Linked DNA regions of Homo sapiens: region 2 is linked to region 1. The links are contacts of gene promoters, found by promoter capture Hi-C in blood cells and fetal thymus (Javierre and others, 2016). All regions are on one chromosome and are shown on one strand. Each heading gives the region's core, a stretch centred on a gene start or on the middle of the fragment in contact. The rest is flanking DNA. Distances are from core to core; before and after follow the strand shown.

Region 1 (7,520 bases), core at 1,317-3,816:
CATCCTTGCTGGGGGCTGTAGTCCATGCTGCCCCAGAAGCCCCTTCTTTCTTCCAAGGTCCTTCCCTCCCCCACCCAGACATAAAAGAGATTTTTAAATACATAGAAAATCAACACTCATTGAAAGTGAAACCTCATTAAGACATCCTATCTTCCATCATTCAATTTGTTGTACATTGCAACAATTTAATATCTTGAAGGAAATATCACTGACATGATTTATCCCTCTAGCAATCTCTCTCTGAAATTGGAGGGGGGGACAGAGTTACTCTCTCTTCCGGCCTCTTCTACTTGTTACACCACTACCCTTAGGGCAGAAAGGAGGCTGGGAACTCTGAGAGAGGCTACTTGTGTCCAGGGGTGCACTGACTTGTTCCCTAGCTCAGTCCCCAGAGTACTCCTGCCTTGTTGTCTCTCCCCCACCTCTTGCCCTCCAGGGGGCCTGAAGCCTCAGCCAGCTGTTGGAAACCTCTGCTCAGGCATGCCATGAATTCGAGGACAGCTGGATTCTAGGGCAAAAAGCAACTCACATTGGTGTCTATGTTTGTGTACCTGCCAAGTCACCCCAAAAATGAGATAACTCATCTAAAATTTTTTTTCTTAATTTAAAAATCCTCCTCTACCCTTTCCCCTTCATTTCCTTGGGGAGAAGAAAGTGTGATCTAGAAGGAGGAACCTTTATAATTATAGGAGTCTTTCCCCTTCCCTTCCAAATACCGACAAATTTCTGTCCTTTCTGGAGGATTGGGGCTGTATTTTCTAAAACCAACACAAATTGTCTGGCAGGAAGACTCTTCAACCCCCTAACGAGGTTCATGTATTAACTAACATGTTGTCTCCACCAGCTCCTGCACACTGTCTGCTTTTGGGTTCGAAACTTTATTTTTCCCCCCTAGCGACACTCCAGGGAAACCTTAACGTTACAGAAGATGAATAAACGAGTTTTTTCTCAGCATAGTCCCGTTTATGGCTTTATTGCTACCCATTGATTACTCCGCTTTGTTACACAGAAGGAAAAGATCATAAAATCCGGCGACATCCGGGTTCTTGTTATAGCCAGCTTTCCCCCCCCCCAACCCACCCAAAAATGGTGGGGGGGGGGGGATATGAGCTTTCTCTGCTCCCCGCACACTCCCCACCACCCTTCTTTGTCAACTCAAGGCATTTTCAGCCTATATCACGATATCAAATTAAGTTTGGACTAATCAGGAGAAAACCCCCATCTGCACACTTTCCGCTGTTTCAGTTCGCCTACTGCGGCTCCCTCACAAGCCTCGGATTCAGCTGCCTTTTCGTAACCGTCTCTTCCCTTTTTTTAGCCCCAAGATGGGGGAATAAAATGGGCGTTGAGGTTGCTGAGAGGCCCATCCCCACCACGGGTGACTGGCACTTGGGTGAGAGCTCCTTAGAACCCCTTTCTGAAGTCTCCAAGCCTCATAGCTCAGGTCCAGGGGCGCCTCCACTGGCGGTGCCCTGAGTCTGGAGGGGGCAGGGGGGCTTCTGACCAAGGCAGGGGCTTGAGCCTGCAGGAAGCTAACTGTCCATCAGAGCCCCACCAGCCTTCTCTTTCTGGCTGGATCCTATGTGAATTACCCCACAGGCCCTCACTGGCTCCAAATAATAAATTCTCACCAACATAAACAGGAGTTGATGTCTCTAGAAAGATTCTCAGAGTTTTCGTTCTTCCTCTCTCTCTCTTTCTCTCTGTCTTTCCCCCTCCGGTGCCACCTCCCTACATTTTACTTCTTTTTCTCCTTTTTCTATTGCATTTTTTATACATTTTCCCTTTTAGGCAAAAATGCTGGAAGAGTTTTCCCAACAGAGGGGTCCTGAGAAGGAGGCAGAAGGGAGCCAGGAGGCAAAGGAGAGCAGATGCGTGGCCCATTTGCCCACTCCAGCTCTGCCACTGTACCCTGAAGTCTTGCCCCTTTAGACCTAGTTGTTCCCCACATCCCTACTACATTCAAGACTCTCAGCCACACTCTACTTACTCAGGGGAACAGGTTTTATGAAATTTCTTTCTACTTTTGATTTTTTTTTAATTATTGGTGAAAAAAATACTAGTTTAGTGATGGGACTCACTCCATGGAGTGTCAAAACAGGATTTCCTGCAGGATTTCTAGGGACCCCCCTCCTGTGCTGGGAGGGAGTTCTTCCCTTGGAGAAATCAGGATGTAATTTTAGAAGGGGGCAGATATAAAACATGAAACCAGATTGAAAATACAGGGGTTTCTCTAGCCCTGGCTCTGGCCACAGCACAGCAAAGTTAGCTGGGGCTGAGAGATTTCCTGGTAGTACAGCTCTCCTTCCCTGAGTCCCAAGGCCCTGCTCAGGGACATGCACCCCTCCTTCACCACCAAACCAGTTCCCTTACATATATATATATATATATATATTTTTTAAAAGAAATCCAAGTCTTACTTTCAAAGCACACACTTAGTCTCAACTAGGGAATCAACAGAAGCAGAAGCGATTTTTTTCCCCCTTCCTGACATCTGGCTTGCGATTGGCTGGGAGGGGGTCAGCTGACTTTGTCATTTTGTCTGTCCTGGATTGGAGCCGTCCCTATAACCATCTAGTTCCGAGTACAAACTGGAGACAGAAATAAATATTAAAGAAATCATAGACCGACCAGGTAAAGGCAAAGGGATGAATTCCTACTTCACTAACCCTTCCTTATCCTGCCACCTCGCCGGGGGCCAGGACGTCCTCCCCAACGTCGCCCTCAATTCCACCGCCTATGATCCAGTGAGGCATTTCTCGACCTATGGAGCGGCCGTTGCCCAGAACCGGATCTACTCGACTCCCTTTTATTCGCCACAGGAGAATGTCGTGTTCAGTTCCAGCCGGGGGCCGTATGACTATGGATCTAATTCCTTTTACCAGGAGAAAGACATGCTCTCAAACTGCAGACAAAACACCTTAGGACATAACACACAGACCTCAATCGCTCAGGATTTTAGTTCTGAGCAGGGCAGGACTGCGCCCCAGGACCAGAAAGCCAGTATCCAGATTTACCCCTGGATGCAGCGAATGAATTCGCACAGTGGTGAGTTTTACAGCTCCGAGATATAAATTAAATAAACTGAACTGGCTTTATGACCGGCTTCCCTAGAAGAACGGGCGGAGAGAGTTTTTTATGGCCCCATAAAAACAATCACGCTCGTCTCCTCACCGAGACAGGGCCCCCTCTTCTGCCCCCTCAGCTCGCCTCTCGCTCGCTTGCAGGGGCCTGGCCCCCTTGGCCCCTGACGGATTGGAGGGCCCCAAGGCGGGCTGAGGGGGCAGGAACAGGGCAGGGGATGAGGGGAGGGAGCAGAAGATAGGGGAGCCCCCCAAAGTGGAGTCAGTCTGAGGAGAAGGGAGGGGGAGAGGAGAGGCAGATAAGTGGGGAGAAGTTTCCAAGGAACTAGGATGCTTGGGGAGATGGGGGAGCCCAGTCCTTGAGAAAGGGGGCCCTCATCCCCATTATCTGGGATTTTTCAAAAATCTGCTTTTAGACTTGCAGCTTTCTGTTTGCCTTTTGCCCCGCCCCCCCGCCCCCCCCCCCACCACACACCTTTCTTTGGGACACACAGGTCCCACCTTATAGGAGGTCTGAAGTTGGGGTCCTCGCTGTACCCCCAGTGGGGGTGGGGCAAGGCAAAAGGGAGAAGGCTAGAGCCCTAAGGAGGCTGTGAGCTGCTGGCCAGGTTGGGAGGGTCAGGACTTTGCTAGGCGAAACAGTCTGCAGAGGACGCTTTGCTGATTGCTTTTAGTGTGTTTTGTGCCCGGATCTTTAGGGGTCGGCTACGGAGCGGACCGGAGGCGCGGCCGCCAGATCTACTCGCGGTACCAGACCCTGGAACTGGAGAAGGAATTTCACTTCAATCGCTACCTAACGCGGCGCCGGCGCATCGAGATCGCCAACGCGCTTTGCCTGACCGAGCGACAGATCAAAATCTGGTTCCAGAACCGCCGGATGAAGTGGAAAAAAGAATCTAATCTCACATCCACTCTCTCGGGGGGCGGCGGAGGGGCCACCGCCGACAGCCTGGGCGGAAAAGAGGAAAAGCGGGAAGAGACAGAAGAGGAGAAGCAGAAAGAGTGACCAGGACTGTCCCTGCCACCCCTCTCTCCCTTTCTCCCTCGCTCCCCACCAACTCTCCCCTAATCACACACTCTGTATTTATCACTGGCACAATTGATGTGTTTTGATTCCCTAAAACAAAATTAGGGAGTCAAACGTGGACCTGAAAGTCAGCTCTGGACCCCCTCCCTCACCGCACAACTCTCTTTCACCACGCGCCTCCTCCTCCTCGCTCCCTTGCTAGCTCGTTCTCGGCTTGTCTACAGGCCCTTTTCCCCGTCCAGGCCTTGGGGGCTCGGACCCTGAACTCAGACTCTACAGATTGCCCTCCAAGTGAGGACTTGGCTCCCCCACTCCTTCGACGCCCCCACCCCCGCCCCCCGTGCAGAGAGCCGGCTCCTGGGCCTGCTGGGGCCTCTGCTCCAGGGCCTCAGGGCCCGGCCTGGCAGCCGGGGAGGGCCGGAGGCCCAAGGAGGGCGCGCCTTGGCCCCACACCAACCCCCAGGGCCTCCCCGCAGTCCCTGCCTAGCCCCTCTGCCCCAGCAAATGCCCAGCCCAGGCAAATTGTATTTAAAGAATCCTGGGGGTCATTATGGCATTTTACAAACTGTGACCGTTTCTGTGTGAAGATTTTTAGCTGTATTTGTGGTCTCTGTATTTATATTTATGTTTAGCACCGTCAGTGTTCCTATCCAATTTCAAAAAAGGAAAAAAAAGAGGGAAAATTACAAAAAGAGAGAAAAAAAGTGAATGACGTTTGTTTAGCCAGTAGGAGAAAATAAATAAATAAATAAATCCCTTCGTGTTACCCTCCTGTATAAATCCAACCTCTGGGTCCGTTCTCGAATATTTAATAAAACTGATATTATTTTTAAAACTTTATACCGGGAATTCTGTTAATTCGCTCGCCCGCCGGCCTCAGGGTGAGAGCTGGAGCAGGCTCCAAGCGCTCCCGCGCCTGCCGGCCCCCTGCAAGCCCCCAGCCCTCTGCACTCGCCTTCCCCGGAGCCCAGGCGCCCGGCCCCGGCCTTCTGTTCGTTCTCGCGATCGCACTGAGGGGCTGGGAGGCCTCTCTGGGCTCCCTGCGCGGAGCAACACACACACCCTGCGGGAAAAAGCCGCGTAGGATTTTGTTGCGGGGGGAGCTGGGATCAGTCGGTTTGGGCACCAACCCCACGCAGGCCTTTCTTCCTGCCTGTGGCAGCCGGTGTCCTCGGCGTCCGAACCCTGAGGCGCCCCGAAAGACCAGTAAAGAAGCACTATCCAGGCACCAGGGTCTCCTCCACCCACTCCCGGGAGTTGGAGGCGGGGGGCGCCGTGAGAGCAAGCCCCAGGCCCGCGCCAAGCTGGCTGTTGCGAAACGTAGCGGAGGCGGAGAGCGGAGGGAAAGAGAAGACCGCGGGACTGGAGCCCTGTCGGCAGGGATTGAGCGATTCAAGGACATCTCGAGAGAGAAAGCCTGGAAACTGAGCTCTCGCCTGCTCTGGTACTCCTGACGTGGCCGGGACAAAATTCCTTCTTCATTACAGCTCCAGCCGGGCTGGTTCCTTACTTTTCTCTCCTCAAACGGGTGAAGAGGCGGGTGAGGAGCGCAGCCGGACCCTAACCATTTATCAACCCTGGCCTTCTCTCTCCAAGCCTGGCCAGAGAAACCTGAGTGGGCCTACAGGGAGAGGTGTTGAGGAGGGTCTCCGGAGGGAAAAAATCCGCCAGAGTTTTCCGGGCCCTTCAGATTCCCTCCAGCGCCCCCACCCTCGCCTCCAGTGCCTCCACCAGTGAGGAGGGGGCCTTCTCCTGGCGGGGCGGAGATTTCCTGGGAAGAAGCAGGCAGGGAAGTATGAGACTTGGGGCTACGGGGGAAGAGGATGGGGCCGAATGGCTGCAGATACCCTGCGAAGGCTACCCAGGCGCCTGCCCTGCCCACCCCCCAGGTCCGCCCCATTCCTCTTGGTAGCTCAGAAATTGCTCTCTTGTGAACCTTATGGATTCAGGTCCCTGGAAAGCCTAGCCCAGAGACCTTTTCCCCAAAGGGCACATAACGGGCCTTTTCCTCTGCCATGCTCACGTAATATTTGTGGAGGCTTCAATCTTGCTTCTCCATGTCCTCAATTAACATCTATTTTCTGTCTAAAACCTCTGGCATAGGTACCACATAAGGATCGCACACAGGGAAACAGAGCAGTCCTCTAGACCATTGTCTGGCTCTGTCCGTGTCCACACACACACTTGAAAATTGCCTTGTTGCCACTCTGGGGACCCTAGCATGGTGAGGTCTAGCCAACTCCACCTGGCTCCTCACCTCCAGATCCATCCCAAACAGCCTGCAACACCCTCAGCTTCATGACCCCCCTATCTTGTTCTGACCACTCAGGATCCCTCCTCCTGGGCGTCCTGTCTACCTCTTCAGAAGCTAATTCTACTTTCTCTTGCTGATAGGCACCTCTTCAGCAGTAGTGGAGCCTTAGGGCCTGAGAGGCAAGGGACTTCTACCTTTGGTTTAGGGAACCTAAGTTAAACCCCATTGGTTCTCCAGCCTGGGCATAGGCCACCTTACCTAACTTAATCCCCTTTCCTCAGCCATTTTTGAAGATTGGAAGACCCTGGAGGTTGGGAGAACGGGACTTTCATTACAAAAAGCACTCTGTGCGTTATAAGTGGGGCCTCGTCTTTTCCCAATTTTAAATAGAATTTAAAAGGCTAGCTCAGGGGTTGCCCCAACAACCAGCTTCTCCTTCACAGTGTAGGAAATCCAGCCACCGGAAAGCAAGCTGGCGCTCCAGGATGCAATTCCCCCACATAGGCACCAGGTGTCGCTGTGGGCTTGTTGTCCCGGCTACCCCCAATTCCAAGAACCTTTTTTTTTTTTTCCCTCCCCCTTCCCTCTTTCTCTCTCTCACTCCCTCTCCCCCTTGGTTGGGCTTTGCCAACATATCGAGATGCTTTTCGCCGGCTTCCATCACTAACCTCCCGGAGGTCATCAAGCCAAATTTATGAGTGGCCGCTCGAGTCACGTGACTCTATTTAAGGCTCCCTTATTTGGGAAGAGCGCATAGGATAAAGAAAGAGATATCTCCACCTATAAATTGTCCACTTTGGAGAACAAAAAACCCCTCAACTTCAAAGAGTCACAAATCACCCTTAATCAAAAAGGGTGCAGAAATTTTTTTGGGCCCTCCCCGCCATGAGCTCCTACGTAGCCAATTCATTCTATAAGCAGAGCCCCAATATCCCTGCCTATAACATGCAAACTTGTGGGAACTATGGATCGGCCTCAGAGGTGCAGGCATCCAGGTACTGCTACGGCGGATTGGACTTAAGCATCACTTTCCCACCGCCTGCGCCTTCCAACTCTCTCCACGGGGTAGACATGGCTGCCAACCCCCGGGCTCACCCCGACCGCCCCGCCTGCAGCGCCGCGGCCGCTCCGGGACACGCTCCGGGCAGAGACGAAG
Region 2 (7,520 bases), core at 2,752-5,251, 260 kb before region 1:
GCCTAAAGCCAAAGTATTAGGTGACTTATTTTCACAATTAACTAAAGCAATGAAAGTAATAAAACTGTATTGTTTGTCAATTTGGTCATTGGACTTCAAGGGGATGACACTGGAGCCAATAGTGTCACAGATAACGTCCTTAGTCCCAGCCAGTTTGGGTTACTTCCTTTGCATTTTCACTTTGTGGTGTGGAAGAGACTTGGACCTGCATTCTTGTTTCATTATCTCTGTTGTCACCACATTGGGCTGTAGATCATGGGGTGCTTCCTTGGCTGTGGCCAGTTAACTCTATACCTCAGGCTTCAGCTGGGGAAGAAGAGGCAAGCTGAAAGTGTCATCAGGCAAGAGCTGTGCTACTTCGCTGCACCTAACCATCTACCACTGCTACCCTCTTCTCTAACCAGGCGTCTTCCCAGTGCAAAGTTCTAGGCCAGTGAGTTATGCCATTCTGTCCTAAAACCTCCTGTGCAAGAGACCCATATTCACTGCCAACCAATCCAAAGGAACGGGGAGCAGAGGAGGTCAGTCTGATGGAGAAGGCTGGACACATAATCAAGGCACAGACACTGGCAGTGCAGCAAGGAAACAAGTTAGGAGCAAATGGACAGAACTCTGGACAGTAATGAGGGGACGAGAGCAGGCAAAGAGGGCATAGCAGAGAGGTCAGATATCTGTAGGTGTGGTTAGATATGCTTCCTGAAGGAGAGTCTTGTTGAACAGTTTGGAAAAAGGGTGTTCTAGGCAGAGAGGGACTGTCCATGTGATGGTTGAGGTGATGATAGCAAGATGTTCGTATATGGGGAAAGATTGGTCCTGTTCAAGCAAAGAGCCACAGAAAAGGTTAATAATAAGAGTAACGGTTAGGGGAACAATGAAAAGAAAGATCTGGAAATACAATCTTAAAAGTTTGGATTTAACAGAGAGCAGAAAACTGCAGGTCTGGTAGGGAGAAGGTGTAGGGTGTGTGTGTGTGTGTGTGTGTGTGTGTGTGTGTGTGTTGCTTTCAATCCTTGAAGAACGTGTCATTTTCCAGAAGGAGGGTAGAGGGCACTCACACTTCAGTTATCTGCTGCAATGCAGCAATCATGGTGAATGTGATTTAGGGCTGTAGCCTGCTTTAAAGAAGGGCAGCACTCGGCCGGGCGTGGTGGCTCACGCCTGTAATCCCAGCACTTTGGGAGGCCGAGGCGGGTGGATCATGAGGTCAGAAGATCGAGACCATCCTGGCTAACAAGGTGAAACCCCGTCTCTACTAAAAATACAAAAAATTAGCCGGGCGCGGTGGCGGGCGCCTGTAGTCCCAGCTACTCGGGAGGCTGAGGCAGGAGAATGGCGTGAACCCGGGAAGCAGAGCTTGCAGTGAGCCGAGATTGCGCCACTGCAGTCCGCAGTCCGGCCTGGGCGACAGAGCGAGACTCCGTCTCAAAAAAAAAAAAAAAAAAAAAAAGAAGGGCAGCACTCTCTGATGGTTGCTGGGGTGAATCTGAGTGAGATCTGTGAGGATCTCATTGTTTAGAGTTACCAACGTTAAAGGCCAGGAGGGTGGATCAGGGAGTATAGCAGGAGGCTGGGATGCAGTCTTTGCCAACTGTAGGAATCTACTAGATAGAGTTCTGGTGGGAAAAATGGCATGTCAGCTAGGTTGAATTCAGGCCTTGGAAAATATATATCTGAAACCAGTGATTTCAGCTGAGATTCCTTAGGTTTAATCCAAATTTTCATGCAACGCCCCCGAATAAAATAAGGATGCTTTGAGGCTGCTTTGCCAATCCCCTTGTCTTTGGCCATATCTGGGGCTTTCTTCCCTTGGAAACTGAAATGGAAAAGTAATTTATCTTCTTCATGGATTTTCCTATACTGATAGCATGTTGAGAAAACTCATTATTTCTTATCTCAAGTTCATATTCTTTAATAACCTTAAAAAAGAACGAGGCAATCTAAAAATAGAAAGGCTAAGAGATCAGTGTTGATGCCGGATATCCATTGGTCTTTATGATTATTTCCATGAATGATTAATAAATATTAGAAATGCTCTAGTTGTCATGAGCTCAGAGCTAGACATGGACATGGGGCACACTAATACCTGTTTTTGATATTCTGCTAAGTAAGGCCTCTGGCTGTCAAGAACAACCAAACCAGACCGAGCAACCTCACGTAGCTCAAGTCCTTCTCCCCAGTATCACCATGAATTGTTAGCTCTGGAATGGGGTTAATCATATTTTAGAATGACTGACAAGCTGACATTTTTCTGGTACTGGGTTCTCCTGAGTTAAGGATCAGGGATTGCCATTCTCTGGCAAGCATCCCCCCACAGTCTGCTTCTGATTGGCAGCCAAGTCTGGGGAGCAAATGGCCAAGTGAATTAGAAAGCTTAAAAGATGTTTTGTTAAACCATCCTCATTAAACTGGCACCGTCTGCCTTCCTACTCTCCTTTGTCCCAGTTGGGGCTGTTCTTCGTGACAGATGTTTCCTAACGGTGTGTGCTGGTAGCATCTGGAATCCTTAGGTGACTGCTGAGGTTTGGGAAGGCCAAATCTGGAGGTATGTAGATTGTCAGGGAAATTGCAACCATTTTCCTGCCATTGGGCTACCATAAAAAAAAAATACCCGCTTCCCTTCCCACCACCCCATTTTCCTTTGGCCAGTGAAAATCAAGCTTTCATTTCCTTCTCTAGCACTTCCTAACCTGCACTGAAGATGGTTTTTTTCCTCTCAAGAATGAGGTAGTGAGTAGACAAGATTTGGAATATGATGAAAGAACAGTGTGATGGAAGAAGTCTCAGAGGGGTTACTTATGTTTGGCATCTAGAGATCTTTTATCCTGTATTTTCCACTAAAAATCAAGCAAAAGCCAATGGGTTAAAGTTGTGGGAGTAGGAATTATAATTAGATGTAAAATTGTGTCTATGAACTATTGGAATAGTTACAGGGATGCTTTGGAATCTCCTTTCTTGGCATCTAAAAAGATTGTCTGGAGAATTTTGGCACCTGATTGGATTAGAATTTTAGCAGGAAATGGTTAAGATGGAACTTTCAGATTTAATGATTTCTCTGCTTCCAGCTCTGGCCTATCAGTGTCTATGTGGGAGGAAAGAGAAGACATTGGCAGGGGATGACCTGGGCATAAGGGTAAGAACTGGTTCAAATCCTCTTTTAATAGCCATGCCCTTAGACTCCTTGTTCTTTGTGGAGACTGGGTGCCACAGTAGGAAGAACATGGGCTTTGACTTCATGAAGAACCATGTTCAAATTCTAACTCTTCTTTTTACTGGCTATATGATCTTGAAAAAGTTATTTAACCTCTCTTCATCTTCAAGATCAAAGAATAATACTTCTGTCATGGAGTAAATAGGGGTTAAATGAAATAGCATATGAACCTTGCTTGCAGCTCAACACATTCTGGTTCCTTTCACCCCTCTTTCCACGTAACTCTAATTCTTGCACATAATTCTATCCCTGGCATGCCATTTGACAGATATTTTGCTCTGTCTCCAGCCTCTGCACATCTTCCCCAATGCTTCTTAGCATTCAAGCCTAGAGCTCTGATTTATTAATTTGTGTTAGTCCCACAAAATGGCAATAACAGTATGTACTTTTTATAACCATACTAACATGAGTCAAGGTTGTGGTTTCATTCCAGGCATTTTTACTTGCTGACAATTTTGGTTGTAAATCAGAGACAAAGGAGTTCTATCTTCCCACCCACCTCTCTGATCTAGAGTTCTTGATTCAGGGCTAGATCATCTGGATAGGATTTCCTTCCAATAAAAAAATGATGGCAAGTTTGTTTATAAGATTATTCAGAGAAGAAAAATCCATAACCTTTACTGTTGGAATATTCTTGTTTTCCTCCCAACCTTTTAATTTGAAAAATATTAACCTACAGAAAAGTTGTAAAATAGTGTAATTAATACCCATTCATTTTTCACCAAGATTGACAAATTGCTAATATTTTGCCACATTTGTGTGCTCTCCCCTTCTCTCTCATATATATATATGTGTGTATATATACACACATATGTAAAGCAGTGCCTATTCAAATTTTGCTAATTGTCCACTGATTTTTTTTTGAGACAGGGTGTCACTCTATTGCCCAGGCTGGAGTGCAAGTGGCATGATCACAGCTCACTGCAGCCTCTACCTCCTGGGCTCTGGTGAACCTCCTGCCTCAGCCTCCCAAGCAACTGGGACTACTGGCACATGCCACCATGCCAGACTAATTTTTTTTTTTTTTTTATAGAGGCAGGGTTTCACCATCTTGCCTAGGCTGGTCTCAGACTCCTGGGCTCAAGTGATCTGCCCTCCTTGGCCTCACAAAGTGCTAGGATTACAGGTGTGAGCCACTGCGCTAGCTGAATAATTTGTTTTATAGTGAAATGTTTCTCCCTAGCCCTGATCCAATTGAAGTTTATGCACTGTATTTTGTTATCATGCCTCTTTATTCTCCTTTAATCTGGAATCATTCCTTAGCCTGTTGTTCATAGCATTCACAGTTTTGAAGAGTACTGGTCAGTTGTTTTGTAGAAAGTCACTGGGTCTAAATTTGACGGATTATTTTCATCATTAGATTCAGATTAGGCGTTTCTGGCACTTTTGGATTAGATAAGAACATTTTTAAAGACAGTGCCACGTAGACAGGGAACATGTCTTTCCCCTGCCTGTTGTGTTCTTAGCACCAAGCACAGCGACTGGCATATAGTAGGTGCTTAATACTTATTGAATGAATGAATGAATGACCTAAAACTTTCACTGCCATGTAGGTCCATTATTTTTCTACCTGAAGAGAGAGAGAAGAGCAGCCTTCTCCTAAATCCTAGTTTCATTTTTATTATAAATCTTTGGGCTGAAAAGGGTAACCCAAGACTTCTTTAATGAGACCACCGAGAAGGGAATATGAGGGAGGGACTATGGCCTGAGGGAAGCCACGGAGTTTCTGTTTACCCAGGGCGAGTGGTGGTGGTGTTCATACTGTGTAGAGACAGGGGGATGAACAAGGTGGTCCTCAGATGGAAGGAAAAATAACACACAGAATCCTAGAGTACCTGGCCTGTTTGCTTACTGAGAAAAATTAGTCATTTAGGTTCCCAGATTTGACCATACTTCCCTCTCCTAGCCCCCATTTGAATCCTAAGAATGCCACAGTGAAAATTGATTTCTGGCCCTCCTCCTCTCCCAGAGGGGACAACTCCATAATTCTCTCTTTCTCCACTTTCCACCCCCCTGCCCTCACCACACACAAGTGTGTATTTTCTAGCATTTATAAACGGTGGTTGGGAGGCCATTCTCTCCAGATTATTTATTGTTGAGAAAATCTATAACTCCTTGGACTTCTCATTTTGATGTAGAAGCTTTCATCCCTGTTGCCTGGGGGAAGTGAGGTTATGAGAGGTACTCTCTGCCTCTCAAAAATGTGTTTTCAGGCTTCCCTTTGGGGCCCTTTCTCTCCCTAGCTCTGATCATCTCAGACATTTCTGACAATCCTTGCTGAGGCATCCAGGGCTTGGGACTGAATTCATCTATTTAATTTTGCAAGGCTGGTGAGTGCCTGATTCACATTGCTCCTGCCCCTTTTCTGAGAATCTACCTGCCTTTGTCTTTGCAGTCCTTAATTTCACCAGTTTCTGGGAAAAAGTATCCTTCATCTCCATATCGGCTCTTGGTTACCAAGAAAAATGGAGGAGATAATCCAAAATAGTGAATGAGACGAAGATTATTATTTTTTTTAAGTGATTGAATCCTGGCTAAAGATAATCCATGAAGTGAACAATCTGGATGAAAGTAATCCATCATGTTACTCTTCCATGGGTGGGTATATGGCATCTGGAGAGGGAGGCTGGTGGGAGAGGGCCTCAGCTTGTTTAGCTCTCACTTTTTTGTCAGAACCATGAGATGTCTGTGGAGAACTCTGCAGAACCCATTTCTATGCTGTATTTTTAAACTCTGGAGGAGGCCTGTTCCATAGTTTGAGAACCAAATACTTAGTTCAAAGAACATGACAATCAGTAGCCAATATGCAAAACTGCCACTTCATCTAGGGTTTCCATGATACCCAGTGTGAAAGTCAAAGTCCTCACAGTGACTCTATGGCCCGCCATGAATGATCCGGCCTCCTGATTTCTCTCTGACCTCATCCCCGACTACTTCTTCCTATCTCACTCTGTGCCAGCCCAAGATGGTCAGGTGCCATTCCACACCCATCAGGATGGCTATTATTAAAAAAACAGAAAATAGCAAGTGTTGGCGAGAATGTGGAGAAATTGGAACCTTTGTGTACTGCTGGTTGGCAAGTAAAATGGTGCAGCCACCGTGGAAAACAGTAAATTGGTGATTCCTAAAAAAGTAAACTTAGAATTACCATATGACCCAGAAATTCCACCTCTGGGAATATATCCAAAAGAAATGAAAGCAGGGACTCAAATTGATATATGTACACCCACGTTCATAGTAACATTATTCAGAATAGCCAAAAGGGAGAGGCAACCCAAGCATCTATTGATAGATAGACAAACAAACAGATAAACAAAATGTGGTATATACATAGAGAGAAATATTAGTCACTCTAAAAAAGGAAGAAAATTCTAATACACGCTACAACACGGATACTCTTGAAGACGTTATGCTAAATAAAATAAGCCAGACACAAGCAGACAAATATTGTATGATTCTATTTATATGAGGTACCCAGAATAGTCAAATTCATACAGACAGAAAGTAAAGTGGTGGTTTCTAAGGAATGGGAGCAGGAGGGAATGGGAATTTAATGTTTAATGGGCACAGAGTTTTAGTTGGGTAAGATGGCAAAGGTTTGGAGGTGGATGGTGACGATGATTGACCCTCATGTGAATGTATTTAATGCTGCATTTATTTATTTATGAGACGCAGTCTCACTCTGTTGCCCAGGCTGGAGTGCAGTGGCACGATCTTGCCTCACTGCAACCTCCGCCTCCTGGGTTCAAGCAATTCTTCTGCCTCAGCCTCCCAAGTAGCCGGGACTACAGGTGCCTGCCACCACGCCCAGCTAATTTTTGTATTTTTAGTAAAGATGGGGTTTTACCATGTTGGCCAGGATGGTCTCAATCTCTTGACCTTGTGATCCACTTGCCTTGGCCTCCCAAAGTGCTGGGATTACAAGCGTGAGTCACTGCGCCCTGCCTTATATACTTTTATTTTTACTTTTTTAGAGACAAGGTCTTGCTCTGTCACCAGGCTGGAGTGCAGTGGCATGATCACAGCTCACTGCAGACTTGACCTCCCAAGGCTCAGGTTATTCTCCCACTTCAGCCTCCTGAGTAGCTGGGATTACAGGCGCTTGCCACCACATCTGGCTAATTTTTCTATTTTTTGTAGAGATGAGGTTTTGCCATGTTTGCTGGTCTCAAACTCCTGGTCTCAGAAGATCTGCCCGCCTTGGCCTCCCAAAGTGCTGGGATTACAGGTGTGAGCCACCATGCCTGGCCTAATGCCACATTTAAAAACAGTTAAAATGGTAAATTTTATGTTATGTACATTTTACCACTAT

The links. Contacts are between HindIII fragments. The CHiCAGO score rates a contact against its expected background, and 5 or more counts as called.
Region 2: a contact is called between a fragment that was not itself captured here and the fragment with the promoter of HOXC6 in region 1, in 2 of 17 cell types (M1 macrophages and M2 macrophages). The highest score is 5.7, in M1 macrophages.

Annotation. Positions count from the first base shown.
Region 1 is chr12:54,025,874-54,033,393 of GRCh38, forward strand. It overlaps HOXC6 (homeobox C6), which reads left to right and starts at 2,567. Exons shown (of 2, transcript NM_004503.4): 1 at 2,567-3,048; 2 at 3,782-4,950. The coding sequence starts at 2,649. The coding sequence ends at 4,089. It overlaps HOXC5 (homeobox C5), which reads left to right and starts at 7,177. Exons shown (of 2, transcript NM_018953.4): 1 at 7,177-7,520. The coding sequence starts at 7,250. It also overlaps a transcript of HOXC4 not described here. RefSeq lists enhancers at 6,692-6,986, 6,981-7,520. The HindIII fragment of the contact is 15,214 bases long and covers 1-7,520 here.
Region 2 is chr12:53,766,835-53,774,354 of GRCh38, forward strand. The region is part of intron 1 of LOC105378250 (a long non-coding RNA gene); the gene reads left to right. Among named protein-coding and RNA genes, the nearest start is that of CISTR, 19 kb to the left of the region's middle. The HindIII fragment of the contact is 2,692 bases long and covers 2,656-5,347 here.